Regions from separate parts of the Homo sapiens genome. Here region 1 is linked to region 2. Evidence: promoter capture Hi-C in human tissues and cell types (Jung and others, 2019). All regions are on one chromosome and are shown on one strand. The core of a region is centred on a gene start or on the middle of the fragment in contact, and the rest is flanking DNA. Distances in the headings are between cores, read along the strand shown.

Evidence for each region. The method cuts DNA at HindIII sites, captures the fragments that hold promoters and counts their contacts. A contact is called where the count stands out against the background at its distance.
Region 1: a fragment that was not itself captured here is called in contact with the fragment with the promoter of CCDC82 in region 2 in 1 of the 25 tissues and cell types used here (lymphoblastoid cells).

The regions. Positions count from the first base shown.
Region 1 is chr11:95,711,442-95,715,301 of GRCh38, reverse strand. No RefSeq gene overlaps it. Among named protein-coding and RNA genes, the nearest start is that of FAM76B, 76 kb to the left of the region's middle. The HindIII fragment of the contact is 3,685 bases long and covers 41-3,725 here.
Region 2 is chr11:96,388,662-96,392,057 of GRCh38, reverse strand. It overlaps CCDC82 (coiled-coil domain containing 82), which reads left to right and starts at 2,146. Exons shown (of 10, transcript NM_024725.4): 1 at 2,146-2,214. JRKL (JRK like) reads right to left here and starts at 2,045. Exons shown (of 2, transcript NM_001261833.2): 1 at 1,985-2,045; 2 at 1-1,575. The coding sequence starts at 1,408. RefSeq lists a silencer at 1,973-2,232. The HindIII fragment of the contact is 6,698 bases long and covers 1-3,396 here.

The DNA of each region.
Region 1 (3,860 bases), core at 634-3,133, 680 kb after region 2:
CTCATATCAAGAGAATAATGTCTGCGACCATGATATTGACCCAGTTTCTCCCCCGTAATGAGTATTTGATGTATAGTGGTTATCATTATTGTAATGTTTAAAGTATCTAATAATAATATTGGGAGGAGGAACCATGAATGTTTTGGATTTGTTCCCTTCACAGCCCTTAGTGCCATGGATATGGTAGGTACTCAGGATTTGTGTATAAATGATTAACAAAAAAGTAAGATAGTAAGAGTAAGGAGCAACCTGCTCTTCTATTAACTAGCTTCATGCCGGGGTAAATCATTTACACTTCCTGAATCTTAGTTTCCTCATGTGCAAACTGGTAGTTTTATAAATGCAAAACTGGTAGTTTTGCACTTGGATATTTATGATGAGTATTTAATTTGTTCTTTCAGGTCTCCAGAGAAGGAAGTTCTTTGGGCAAAATTTTTGAGTTTAAGAATTATTTCTTAATGATAATCTGATTTTTCAAAGCTTTCAGGTATTCTCAGCAAACTAGCGCAGGAACAGAAAACCAAACACTGCATCTTCTCACTCATAAGTGAGAGTTGAAAAACGAGAACACATGGACACTGAGAGGGGAACATCACACACTGGGGCTGTCAGGCAGTAGTGGGCAAGGGAACGGAGAGCATTAGAACAAATACCTAATGCATACGGGGCTTAAAACCTAGATGATGCGTTGACAGGTGCAGCAAACCACCATGGCACATGTATACCTATGTAACAAACCTGCACATTCTGCACATGTATCCCAGAACTTAGAGTAAAAAAAAAGTTTTTTGAGAAGAGATATCAGAAATATTGTCATATTTTCTTGATTAGAGTCGAGATAAAAAGAAGTAAATGTTGAGTGTCTGCTCCCTTTGGTATTATCTTATGGACAGCATAGGACCAGGATTGAATCCTGATGACCACACTGGAAGAAGAAGTGGAAAATGAGGTGAAGGAGCCCAATTCTAGAACAGTTCAATTTCATTTGTTATTCTGGTGATTAATGTCTTCAGCTTTATACCTGGAGTGTTTCCAAAGCTTTTCACTAGATGCTCACCTTGACTCTGCCCAATATTCTCAACCTCAGCTAAATAAAACTAGTTTTTGACACCTAAAGAAATGGAACTTGTAAAACGTGGACATAATTCTACTTAAAGAGACAATGATAAACCCATACTTACATTCATTTAACTGTATTGATTTTTTTCTCAGAATTTAAGTGGGTTGAGGCAAAGAGGTATGTGACAGGGAGGAAGGGGAAAATCTTCTGGGGCACTTATATGCTTTTTAGAGTTTCTTTCTATACCTAACTCTTCTCTGGGGTGCTGAGGGTTCCAAAATAAATATTAATTACATCACAAAATTCTAAGAAGATGAATTTTTTTTGTCAGGTTCACCAATGGTCACTTTGGATTCCCAAAGAACACAGTAAACTTTAATTAGGTGATTAAACCATTAGGTGAAAAAGGAGTATTTCAGTATTAGAATAATCTTCTCATCTGATTCCCCAATCAACAAGCCATATGGAATCAACATACCAATATTGACTCTAATACATATTAGTCAGAATATAAAGTTGAAAGAGGTAAATAAGACTACCTCCCTAGGTGTGTATGTGGACTTACAGAACCTAGTTATATGGTGGTATTATACAATGGAATTACGTCACATTTATTCATTTTTGATGGGCAGGTGGCATTCCTTAGGCTTTTGAGTAGACTACATTGTAATGTGGGAAAATCGTTTGTCTAACTTCATTAATTGACAGCACTAATGAGAATACAATTCAGGTTGGTTGGTACAGTTTCACAGTTTTGCTCTATTAATGCTGGAATCATATCTTTATATTTGGCAGTTTTACTCCGAGCCAATGACATCAGCAAAAAGTTCATCCTAAAAGAAATTTCCATGTTGAATCAAATAACTGTAAGAATGTTATTTCTTCTTAACTTCCTAAATTTTGTGCCAATGATTCCATTGGATATAGAGGAAAGAGTCTTTCCTTTGAGAGCTTTCTTTCTACAAACATTAAAAACATACAGTCCAGGAAATCCTTTTAGTACAAACCAGTGGAAGGTGATATAAATGAAAATAAGGGGAAATAAAATAAAAACAGTGGGTGGAATCTGACATATTTGTTTGCTAAAATAACATAGATAGTTATGAATGGCACAATATTATTCAAATTTTACAAACATTTAATATCTTTATCACATAAATCATCTTATTTAATGTTTAAACTTGGGAATTAGCTCTTATTGTCCCCCCTTTCCTTGAAGATGAGGAAATGGAGCAGAGAGGTTAAGTAACTGTCTGAAACAAAGAGCTAGTATGGGTGAGAACCCAAATTCAATTCCAGTTCCATCAGACTGTAGTCCAGTGGTTTTTCCTATTTTGCTGATGGTTCTAACATTTTTTCCTCACTCAGTGCACCTGATAATTTGTGTCTGTCAGCAGCACTGTGCCTCTGGAGGGGTGGGAAGGTGGGAGGTTTCCCTTAAGGGCCCATCAGCATCTATGGATGGGTGGGTATGTGTAGTTTGGGAAAGATGCCAGGGACAATTCCATTTTCCCACCACCCACTTTGGATTCCCAAAGAACACAGTAAACTTTAGTTAGGTGATTAAGTCATAGGTGAAAAAGGAGTATTTCAGTATTAGAATAATCTTCTCATCTGATCCCTAATCAACAAGTCATATGGAATCAACATACCAATATTGACTCTAATACGTATTAGTCAGAACATAAAAGTTGAAAGAGGTAAATAAGACTACCTCCCTAGGTGTGTGTGTGGACTTATAGAACCTAGTTATATGGTGGTATTATACAATGGAATTGTATAATTGACATTCTTTGCATTATCCCACACTCTACCATTTTGGTTTGATTTTATTCTATTGACTTTAGCACAGAACTTCTCCCAGCTTTCCTGTTTAATATCTCTGTGTTATGTGTTTTTGCACACATTTATCAAGCAATTAGTTTCATGGAATATTTCTCAGTCGGCACATTTCCTTTGTTCAGAAGTATATCTCAGAATATATGGGGCAAGAAACTCTTACCACAGAGTTATATTAAGCTTTAATTAGGATAAAACATCAATTCGGGCGTTACTATGTGAAGCTGGAAATCTCTCTGTCACATCTCTGTATTTCTCCTCTTGTGAGCGTCCTTGACCTTGCTTGCCTGTAATGGCTTAATATTACAGGAACCATTTTGCTTGGGCTCATTCTGATACCCATGACTCAACTGCTCCCTAATATGCTTCAGGAGGAGGATTTAATCACTTTCACTACCTCCTACCCACAGGTCTTTTTGTCTTCTAGCCACAGTTATCTCTAGTCTCCCTTGAGGGTCTCTACCCAGCCATTTTCAGCATCCACCACAACTCTACCCCTTTGCCTGTGATACTCTGGTGTCCCAGCCAAGTGACATGCACACTTAATATTCTGTTGTGCTTTATACAGGTTGCCTTAGTTTTCCTTCATGGTCCCTTCTAAGTCATAACTCGTTTTTTCTCAGTAACAAAATGAGCTGGTGAGTTTTGTGATTTTGAATCAGGCATGAGAAATACACAATATTAGGCTATTAGGACCATGGAGCTTACTGAACTTAAGTGCCCTTAGCCCTCTGGAAATAATAAGTATGCTGAATTATATACCTTTACGTCCAGTCTTTATGTGCCACATTGCTGCTAAAAGGGACATTTCTGCTTTCTCTGTGTTGGTGGTTTCAGTATCAATATTCTTTCAAACTCATTGGCCAATTTGGATTTTACAGAGAGCACAGACTTTTCAGGTTTTAGCTAAGGAAAAGGAGCTGTTACTTTTCACAGAAAAGCTGCTGTCTGTTGGAAGCCA
Region 2 (3,396 bases), core at 897-3,396:
GTTCTATTTCCTCCTCCTCATTTTCACTGGATTCATCTGCCTGGCCTTGTGCTCTTCTGATGATTTCGCTATCAGTTAACACTTCATAGCCTGGTTCAGTACTGTCTACTTCAAGCCATTTTTCAAGGTTCTCAGTAGTCACATTTTCCAATCCTTTGGTGTGTTGTAAAATGGCAGCCACAGTAGCCACAGAAATATCTTCAACATCAAAGTCCAGGCTCTCTTTCTCCTCTACCATAGGGAGAATCTTCTTCCATGCTCTGCTAATGGTAACTGGTTTTACTAAGTTCCATGCCATTGCTATTTCATAAAGTGCATCCAACAGAGTTAGCTTCTTCCAGAATGATTTCAGGTCATTACCTTCTTCCAAGTTGTTCTGGAGAAGACCTGCACGATAATTTCTCTTCATCGTTGCTATGACTCCCTGATCTGAAGGCTGAATCAATGAGGCCACATTAGGTGGTAAATATTTAGCAAATATTTGGCCATCATCTGACCTTAGGACATTTTCATTTGGATGTGTTGGTGAATTATCCAACAAGAGCACAGCCTTTTCCTGCAAGCCTTTAGATCTTAAATACTCTCGAACTTGCGGCACAAAAATTTTATCAAACCATTGTCGGAAAATGGAAAGATCCATCCATGCACCTTTTTGGCTGAAATAAGAGACTGGCAGGTTTAAGGTGTCAGTTGATTTAAAGGAGCGAGGTTTCTTTGCTTTCCCCACAACACAAAGTTTAAGTTTGTGTAAACCTGTTGCATTGGCACAACACATGATTGTGACTCTTTCTTCAATTGATTTGTGCCCAGGGACAGTGCATTTACCTTTGATTACTGAAATCCTAGAAGGCAAGCACTTCCAAAAGAGTCCAGTTTCATCTGCATTGTAGATTTGTTCAGGCTGTAAATTCTCTCGTTCAATAAAATCTCGAAAGTTATTACAAAAATCTTCCACCGCAGTCTCATCTCCATTTAATCTTTCATTTCTAATGTTAATCTCTCTAATGCTGTGCCGCTGCTTAAAACGAGTTAGCCAACCGGCAGAGGGGTTAAAATCACCATCCATTCCCAAAGCATAAAAGAAGAACTCTGCCCTTTTTGCACAAATTGGTCCAGATATGGGATTCCCTTTTGCTCTTTGCTGGTTGAACCATTCCAGCATTGCCCTGTCCAATTCCTCATACATGGATGGCTTCATAGATTTCCTCTTGGCCAAAAGACTTGTGGAATCAGAACTGCTTGCATAAGTTATAATCTTTTCCTTATTTTTTCTTATATCCCGAACTGTTGTTTCACCAATTCCATAAATCACTGCCAGTTGTTTGGAAGAACCTCCGTCTTCAAGTTTCTTTATTATATCAAGCTTATCTTTAATAGTCAACACCACACGCTTCCGTTTCCCTGACATAGCGAGGTTCTGGGACTCACCCCACACTCACAATGTAGCAATCCACAAAATCCTTCCTTCTCTTACACAGGCTCACTTCAACAGTCTTAACACACTCAGTCTTTCATCCTTACCAGCAACCTGGTGGCCCTGATCCCCTCCCGGGCTGGGGTTGGCTGGCAAATAGACTGCAGAAGAAGGTGAAAGAGGAGGAAGTTTGAGAGAACAGGCCTTTCTTTAACTTATACGGGCAGTAGCGGAGGCCCCATGTCACCGCGGATAATCCGGATTAAAAGCATGTGTTTTATTACCCCAGCAGCCGTGAGAAAGACTATACCCCCATTGTGGCCACGAACCTCCTGCACGTCCAGATCCCGGGTAACCGCGCGTCACTAACCCCTGCCACACCCCAAAGTTACGACAGAGAGCCGAAGAGCCTAGGAGTCAAGGACTGGCACCCTTCCTCAGGGGAACGGATATATTAGATTCCTTCCCCAGCAGCAGGGCCCTCCCGCCGCGCAGCCCCAGTTTCCCGCGCCAGCTTTAGCCGGGACAGTCCTCCCAGTCCCTCAAAACCCGCCAGGCCCCTCTCCCCACCTCTCTTGCAACCAGGACCCGCACAGCTCCCTGACTATCGCGCGGCAGTCGCTCCGCCCCTAGCCACGCTCCCGGAAGATGATCCCTCCCGCCGCCTGGCCCCACCCCTCGCCCCACCCAGAGGCGGGACTTCCCTTGGTCCCCGGAAGGGGGGGAGGAGCATCGCTTGTCCTGAGCTGGTTGCCGGGGCAGGGGCGGAGGCGGAGGCAGAGGTGGAGGCGCTTTGAAAGGTGAGAGCGCGAGGGCGGTGCGGGGCTGTCTCCCGGCTGGGACTCGCTCGCGCTCCCGGTGCTAATGGTTTATGAGAGGGGCGGGGGAAGCCGTGCCTCCTCGCGGACTAAGAGAAAAATTCCCGCGGGCGCTCTTTGGGTGGGCCGGAGAACGCCCCTCAGCCCTTTGCGCCTCTAACCCTCCTCAGCTGAGCTGCAGTGGGCGCGGTGCCCGTTATTTCCGCCTTGGGGAGGTGCTTGGAACTGATGTAGGGAGCTCGGTTGGTGATTTCTCGGGTTTCTGGCCTTTCCAGACCCTTGTAATTGTTTTCTCGGTGCAGAGCTCTTTTGGGGTCTGGGGGTTTCCGTCGTCCTGCGCGCGTCATCGCGAAGCTTGGCCTGAGGGTCCGGTTTCCTAGCTACTGTGCCCCTCCCTCCTGGAGGCAGAGTGACGGACTAGTGGGCTAGCGGGCGCTGGGTTCCTGCGTCCCGCCAAAGAGGTTTGTAATCATGAAAGTCACCCTTCCGGGTGTTAATTCCTGAGAGGATCTATTCCACTGTCTACCACTCATTCCTGCTGCATTAACCTTCATTGTTAACGGATTTTAATGAATAATATAGTTATCCCGGATACCATGCTGGCAGGATCCACTTTGCGAAATTGTGGACTGTTGGACTGTGATTCTAAGTGGGGGAAATAGGCTTTCCTCTCTTTATGTTTATTTTCTTATATCCTATTTCTGTCATGTTCTGTCTTGTTTTCCTGCCAATAGAAGAACTATGATAAATTTATTCATAGCAGTGTGATAAGAACTTGATCTTAATCATACACTGTAGCCCTCAAATCGTGTATTATGCTGGCTTGTTTTTGGTGTCCCTAGTAATTTCATCAGATTGTGAGCTCCTTGGGAGCAGAGACCATGTTTATTTGAAATGGTGGCAGCACAGTTCCTAGCAGGTGCTTGCATTTTGGTAGATATTCAATAATTATTTTTCGGCTTATTAATCTTTGCTCTCCAAACTGCCATATAAAAGAAAACATCGAAGAGGAGTGATGTTTTACACCCAAGAATGGATCCCTCCTGGTAGAATTTCAAATAATGACCTGGGGTTCCACTGCCTTTCAAATCTGTAAAGTGTTAACTACCACCTGCATTGTTTATACAGCAAGTAGGTGATTTCTAGAATGAATCTTTTCTTGAG